Linked DNA regions of Homo sapiens: region 2 is linked to region 1. The links are contacts of gene promoters, found by promoter capture Hi-C in blood cells and fetal thymus (Javierre and others, 2016). All regions are on one chromosome and are shown on one strand. Each heading gives the region's core, a stretch centred on a gene start or on the middle of the fragment in contact. The rest is flanking DNA. Distances are from core to core; before and after follow the strand shown.

Region 1 (3,723 bases), core at 1,224-3,723:
TCCATGCAATTTACATCTGTATCTTATGCAATGAGAAACTGGTTTACACAGCTCCGTAACTGCAGTATTTTTTAACACCCCATTTTGCAGTCTCAGAATACTTTTCAATTAAACTGGTCGACATGTTTAAAGATGAGAAATAAGATGTTTGCATTGTAAAGTTGAGTAATAGCTAATAAATGCACACTTCCTTCCATTAATATAAATCTGGAACAATTTATGGTAAACAAAAATCTATCCGCGTTATCAGTAATCTAACAGTGCATACTTTTACTGAACACTTCCTGTGAGCCAGGCCTCGTAGTAAACATCTGAACATGCAATTTCACATTCAGTGTGGAATAAGAAGTGTCATAGGTTCGCGTGTTTTTCACAACTGATTATGATGTCCATGATGACAGCGTGCACTAAGCGCTGTGTCCAACCAACCCTTTACCTGGCATTTTAGCCAGCAAGACCCGCTTGCATTGCAGTCGTTCACGGTGCTCGCTGGCACAATTTTAGAATGTTACATGAATACTCAGGCCTGACTAACCTTCCCCTCCAAAAAACAACAAAACAGAACAAGGCTAAGCCTTTACTACTCAGAGACACATCTGTAAGACCCCACAGGGACAAGAAAAGTAGCTGTGATCTAGGTCTGCACTAAAGCTGCCTTTCCTGGCACTCAGAAGTGCCCTTCCAGGCCTAACTGCAGAAGGGTGGCCTCAGCCTCCTCCTCCTCCTCCTTGGCTTCCTCCTCACGGATCTGCACCAGCAACTGAAAGAGGTTTGGGGCTGGCCCTTCCCCAGCCCCGGTAAGCCACAGCTGCCTTCGGATGGCCCCGCTGTGGTTGGCCCCGGCAATGACCTGCTCTAGGCGGGCCTGGTTCACATTATCTTTATCAATGGCCCCCTTCTCTACCACCTTCTGTAGCAGAGGCTCCAGACGAATGACATAAGCAGACAATTTTTCTCCCGGGTTCTGATAAGTGTTCAGAAATTTGATCTGGGCATCCCTAGAGCTCTCAACGCTCCCAAACACCTGCTCAAGCGCCTTCAGGCATTCGGCAGTGGTTATCGCGGGGTTGTTGGACTTAAGGATGCGAATAACATCAGCGGCGGGGCCTCTAAGACTCTCCATCAACCGCCGCCTCTTTTCTACATCGGACACCTGCCACTCCTCTAGGACCTCATTAGTGTGCTCCAGCCAGGGATCAAAGGTTTCCTCTCCAGGCCCTGGGATGTCCCTCCCCGAGAAAAGTGTCAGCCTCTTGTACCATATGGACTCAACAAGAGGCTGAATAACATTATCCAAAATATAGTTTAGCATCTCTGCTGGCATCTCTGGGCCCGGGGTCGGAGTAGGGTTCTGAAACCCAAGGACACGGGCAACATCTTGCACGGTCCACCCCTCTCTAGCTAGGAAGAGGTGCAATCTTTCTAAAAATTCAGCATCAGAAGTTGGGGGCTTAAATAACACTTTCCAGACCCCTCCTTTGCCCGGCATCTCCCTGGGGATCGCGGCGTAATCTACAGCGCCAGTGAGCTCTAATAAGGCTGCTTTCGCATTTTCTTCCCTCCAGAACATTCTCCCAAGCATTCGGTAGGAGACCTGGGGCATCGCAGCCTGGAGGGTCTCTTCGATTTCAGCCTCATCACAGTTCACTGGGATGCCCCAGACTAACAGAGCTCTCTGGGAGTTCACATCCATCCCCCGGCACCAGTCTTCCAACAGTGTCATCGCCATTTTCTCAACTATCAAGACGCCAAATTCTACCAACAGACTGTGGCTCACCGTGCTCCTGGCCTTAGAACAATACCAGACACTCCCACCAAGTAGGCCCGAGGGAGGCGACCTTCATGCAGTCACGATTAACAAAGACAGAGTCCTGATCTCGCCCTTCTCTGCCCCCACAGTCAGTCCGTAGGTGCACTCGGAGCCGAGCTCGGGGACGCTGAGGCAGTCACGCGGCCGTCGCCATCTTGCGTCTGGGTCTGGGTCCGGTCGGGTCCGCCGCCTGCAGCAGGGGCGTCGCGTCGTCGTGCAGCGGGCGAGGAGCGACGGCGGGCGGCGAAGGCAGGCGCGCTGGGCCGAGAGCCGCCGGGGTGTGGTCGCGGGGCGTGGCCGCCGGGCGCTCGCTGCGGCTCCTGGAGAGGATCGGGCGTTCGCGGTCGCAGCCTGGTCTTCCCGCGGGCGAGGAGCGGCCGTTTGGGAGACTAGCCAGAGGGAGAAACTGTGCCGAAGTCGCGGCGGCTGCGGGCCAGCGGAAAGCGGCTTCTTGGCGGGCGCGGGGACTCCTCTGGGCGGGCGGCGAGGACGGCCGAGGACCAGAAACGAAGGCAGCAGAGGAGCAGGAAAGTCGGAGAAGCGAGGCTGGAGACAGCAGAGGCGAGGGTGGGAAGGGGCGGCCGCGGCGGCCCGCAGCGGTTCAGGCGCTGCGCGGCTGCTCTGGCGTCCAGTCCTACCCGCAACCCGCCGCGACGTTACTGCTGCAGTGGAGGATGGGGCCAGCCGGCGAGCGGCGTCCGCCCCGCCCCGCCCCGTCCCGCCCCCGCGGCGGAGCTGCTCGGGCGTCTCCATGGCAACGGTGTCCCAGCCGGCGCGAGGCACGCCTGCTCCGGCGGCTCGCGGGGGTCGAGCGGTTGCCGTGGAGCCAGCGAGGGGCTCGGGCATTTGTTTCTCTGATGGCGCATTTCCTTTTTCATAATTTAGCATTTTAACAGTAAACAACTACTACTAAGCACCGTGTTTTAAAAATAATAACCCAATCCTGGAGTGGATTTAAGATGATATTGTTGGAAATGCATCCCTCATGGTGGACTTGTCTACTCGGGTTGCTCAGCCAGTCCACCCTGCACGTGAAAATACTCTCCTCAGAACCCTGGCTTCCCGTTGCCCCTGACCACACTGTGCACCCTGCATATTTCATCCCAATGAAGCCAAAATGTCGGAGTGCGCCATTTCTGTGTATTTGTGTGAGACACTGAGTTTAGACTTTTTCTTGTCTAAAATTTTGTAAAAATCTGTCTGTGTCTACTGAGTCATCTTTTAGCCAGGCAAACATTAGTGTATTATTTTCCTTTTCCTGGCTGGCATCATTGACAATAGGCTGCTAAAAGAGAATCCTTATGGTTCAAAAATGTCGAGTAATCTCCCTGCAAGCAAGACAAGGCGCACTTACATCAACCCCAGATGGTGAAAATCCCAAGAGAACAAAGCATTCAACTCTGAATTTTTAAAACCTTATTTAATAAAAGGTTTAAAGATACAGAAGAACATTCAAAAGTAAATAAGTTACATAGGTACATTACAATCACATCAGCAAGATTCTTTAGTGTATTAATTTTTTTCTTATAAAAAGCACACAAAAAATAAAATCTTCAGTCTCTATCACAACTGTACAGCAAAAGAGGTAATATTTATATATGTACACTATTTTAATATGTAACAGTCTTTTTAAAAAAGGATGCCACAGGCAGCAAACACACAAAAGGCAGTGTCTGATCATTTTTGTTTCAAAATAAAAGGAATATACTTATTTATATGCTATTAAAATATCTGTACAATAATTACAGACTGTCAAGGCTGTTCCTGTGCTCTGTCCCCTCCAACAAAGCCTTCAACTTAGAGACAAATGAGGAAAAAGTGAAACAGCTGCAAATTGTTAGAAGCAAATATTAACATAGCAAAATGTGGGGAGGACACAATTGTTTTATAAAAATATCCCTACTTCCTGTAAA
Region 2 (3,527 bases), core at 796-3,295, 100 kb before region 1:
GTAGAGACAGGGTTTCACCATGTTGGCCAGGCTGGTCTCAAACTCCTGACCCCAAGTCATCCGCCCCCCTCGGCCTCCCAAAGTGCTGGGATTACAGGCATTAGCCACCGTGCCCGACCAAGGTGCCATATTAATATGATCAGACAAACCTCTGCCTCCAGATCCTGGGGGTCTGGAGGGCATATGAAATGTACTAGGTTTACTAAAGGAGGTATCTGGGTTGGGGATGGACTGCAGGGCAGTTCTCTGGTTGGCCTTGGACTGACTCAGTTCTCCCCTCTTTCTCACTAGTAGTTCTCAAGCATAGAACGTGCTGGGAATGTAACATCCTGAGAGAGGGACGGACTGGCTGGAATAGCCCTGGCTCTATTCCAGCCCCTCCCTACAAACAGGATGTCTTTCAATGCTTTAACCCAGCAGTCACATGACCCCAGAGTACAAAACTCAGGGCAGCTGCAGTGCAAGTGGGGCACACACACATGAGATTCCATCACCCAGGCAGCATTCCTGAGCCTTGGGGGACTGGTTTCCAATGATTCTTAGGCTTCTGTCATTCTTTGCTGCCTATCTGTAAGTAATAAATCCAGTTCATGTAAATTGTTGTATTAAATATATGAATGTGTTTTCTCACTGGACTCAGACAAGTTGGTAACCAGCATACAGTGAACTTGCTTCATAGAGTCTAATACCTTTTTGTTCAGTTTATACATGTTTACTGAGCTGGGCATCACTATATGCTCTTCTTCCTTCTCCACCCTGCTATGTTCCCAGCTAGGTTGAGCTGTGTGGTTGGGTTTGGCCAAAGAGAGGCATTAGCAAGATACTGAAAAACAAGAGGAGAGTCAAGGGACTTATAGTCTCCTCCTTCCTGCCACAAACCATAGGTTCCTTCTAAAAAAGGTACAACTCCTATCAGACTGCCCCCTTCCCTTGAACCTTCAGATTCAGGGTTCTACACCGAATCTTGTTTCATTGTTTTTGTTTTTAAATCTTGCCCATGCCTTTGTAGATAGTACCTTTATAAAACTCTCCTCAATTACACAGGCTGAGAGTGCCACTTGCTTACTGCCAGAACTCTGTATGCATACAACCCAAAATGGACTCTGCCAGTGATTAGATTTGTGAGGTAAGAAACAAAACAAAACTTTCACTGGGTACTAACCTACAGGTGTGTCAGTGTAGTGTTTTTACACATTAGCCCATTTAATGGTCACAATAAGCCTTTTCAGATAAGAAAACTGAATTTAGAGGGTTATGTTTCTTGCTAAAGATCACCAGGTATTAATATTAAGGATCAGGGTCAGACCAGAACTCGGCTAGGTCTGCCTCCCTAAACATCTGCTTTGCTCCAGGTACCATTAGCCCTGGAAAAAAGGCTTGGTAAGGGACTGAGGGGTAAAGGACGGATTACGACCATGTTTCTCCAAGGGGTCACCTGAGTACAATCACCTGGGATGCTTTTTCAAAATCTAGATTCTTGGACTGTATCTCTCTCAATCCTTTAGCTCTCAGTGGTTTTTGTGCCTCTATTTCGACACTCACCACATTGGATTGCAGGAATAGTCATTAACTCTTTTTTTTTTTTTTTAGACGGAGTTTTGCCCTTGTTGCCTAGGCTGGAGTACAATGGTGCAATCTTGGCTCAATGCAACCTCTGCCTCCTGGGTTCAAGCAATTCTTCTGCCTCAGCCTCCCAAGTAGCCGGGATTACAGGCATGCGCCACCACACCTGGCTATTTTGTATTTTCAGTAGAGATGAGGTTTCACTCTGTTGGTCAGGCTGGTCTTGAACTCCTAACCTCAGGTGTGATCCACCCACCTCGGCCTCCCAAAGTTCTAGGATCACAGGCGTGATCCACCGCCCCCGGCCGGATTGGTCATTAACTCTTATTTCAGCAGATACTCTTTCATTTGGGACACTGGTGTATTTGCACAAATTCTAGGCGCCCCACGCAGCGGCCTGGAGCCTGTCCCCAAGTCCAACCAATGGGAGTAGTGTTAAGGGCTCCGCCCTCGACTACTTTCCAGCGCTCGGCAAAGCCGCCAGGCCCGCCCACTGACTCCGCGGAGCTGGGTCGCCCCTGTTCTACCCAGATTGGGATGGCAGCGACGCTGATCCTGGAGCCCGCGGGCCGCTGCTGCTGGGACGAGCCGCTGCGCATCGCAGTGCGCGGCCTGGCCCCGGAGCAGCCAGTCACGCTGCGCACGTCCCTGCGCGACGAAGAGGGCGCGCTCTTCCGGGCCCACGCGCGCTACCGTGCCGACGCCCGCGACGAGCTGGACCTGGAGCGCGCGCCCGCGCTGGGAGGCAGCTTCGCGGGGCTCCAGCCCATGGGGCTGCTGTGGGCGTTGGAGCCCGAGAAAGCCTTGGTGCGGCTGGTGAAGCGCGACGTGCGGACGCCCTTCGCCGTGGAGCTGGAAGTGCTGGACGGCCACGACACCGAGCCCGGGCGGCTGCTGTGCCTGGCGCAGAACAAGCGCGACTTTCTCCGGCCGGGGGTGCGGCGCGAGCCGGTGCGCGCGGGCCCGGTGCGCGCCGCGCTCTTCCTGCCGCCGGATGAGTAGTCTGCCCAGAATTTGGTCGAGCTCTGCGACCCCCACCGGCCCCTTTCCTGTCCTGGGAATCGCGTGATTGTGGAACATCCCTGAACTTGTTCCTTCGCTCCAGAGTCTGTCATGGATTCTGAGTCTGGGCGTCCGCTGTTGCCCAGGCTGGAGTGCCGTGGCTGGATCGTAGCTCACACTGCAGCCTCGAACTCCTGGGCTCAAGTCCTCTCGCCTCAGCCTCCTGAGTAGCTACTCCAGTCTTTCCTTTTTAAGTTTCACGTCCCTCCCTGGAGGCACCACCACTTTAGCTATGTGCTGAATAGTGCATTCAACTTATTATATATTTATTGAGAGCCACTATGTGCCAGCCATGTGGTTTTGTTTGAATACGATATGGGCAAAACCTTAAGCTGATGTGCAAGAAGGATTTTTGCCTCCTTTCACATCAAACTTCCAAAGAAGCTAAAATCCACAGTATTGGCAATGCCCTTTAATTGTTTAAAAACACACACAAAACTGCCTGACAGTCCTCTCCCTTCTATCATAAACATGCTGTACGTGGTTCTCAACCTGCAATGATTAGCCGCCCTCCCTGGGGGAAATTTGGCAATATCTGGAGACATTTGTGGTTGTCATATCTGAAGGGAGAGGTGCTATTGGCATCTAGCAGGCAGAGGCCAGAGATGCTGCTAAACATTCCACAATGCACAGGACAACCACCAGAACAAAGAATTATCTTGCTGAAAATGTCTGTACTACTGAGGTTGAGGAACCCTAGTCTAAGTAAACACAGGATGTTTGCTAGGTAAAGGTAGCCCAGAAAGAAGACTCCTGATTAATCCCTTCTAACTAAATTCCTGACTTAAACCTCTACCATATAAAAATGATGAGCCGGGCACAGTGGCTCAGGCCTGTAATCCCAGCACTTTGGGAGGCTGAGGTGGGCAGATCACTTGAGCCCAGGAGTTCAAGACCAGCCT

What was found. Contacts are between HindIII fragments. The CHiCAGO score rates a contact against its expected background, and 5 or more counts as called.
Region 2: the fragment with the promoter of ACOT6 here is called in contact with the fragment with the promoter of PNMA1 in region 1 in 2 of 17 cell types (M1 macrophages and naive CD8 T cells); the score reaches 6.2 in M1 macrophages.

The regions. Positions count from the first base shown.
Region 1 is chr14:73,711,911-73,715,633 of GRCh38, forward strand. It overlaps PNMA1 (PNMA family member 1), which reads right to left and starts at 2,474. Exons shown (of 1, transcript NM_006029.5): 1 at 1-2,474. The coding sequence starts at 1,729. The coding sequence ends at 668. It overlaps MIDEAS (mitotic deacetylase associated SANT domain protein), which reads right to left. Exons shown (of 13, transcript NM_001367710.1): 13 at 3,212-3,723. RefSeq lists enhancers at 1,870-1,929, 2,870-2,939 and silencers at 2,020-2,189, 2,370-2,649. The HindIII fragment of the contact is 4,676 bases long and covers 1-3,723 here.
Region 2 is chr14:73,610,472-73,613,998 of GRCh38, forward strand. ACOT6 (acyl-CoA thioesterase 6) reads left to right here and starts at 2,046. Exons shown (of 3, transcript NM_001365788.1): 1 at 2,046-2,561. The coding sequence starts at 2,101. It also overlaps a transcript of HEATR4 not described here. RefSeq lists enhancers at 2,157-2,206, 2,224-2,723, 2,257-2,306 and a silencer at 3,382-3,527. The HindIII fragment of the contact is 17,987 bases long and covers 1-3,527 here.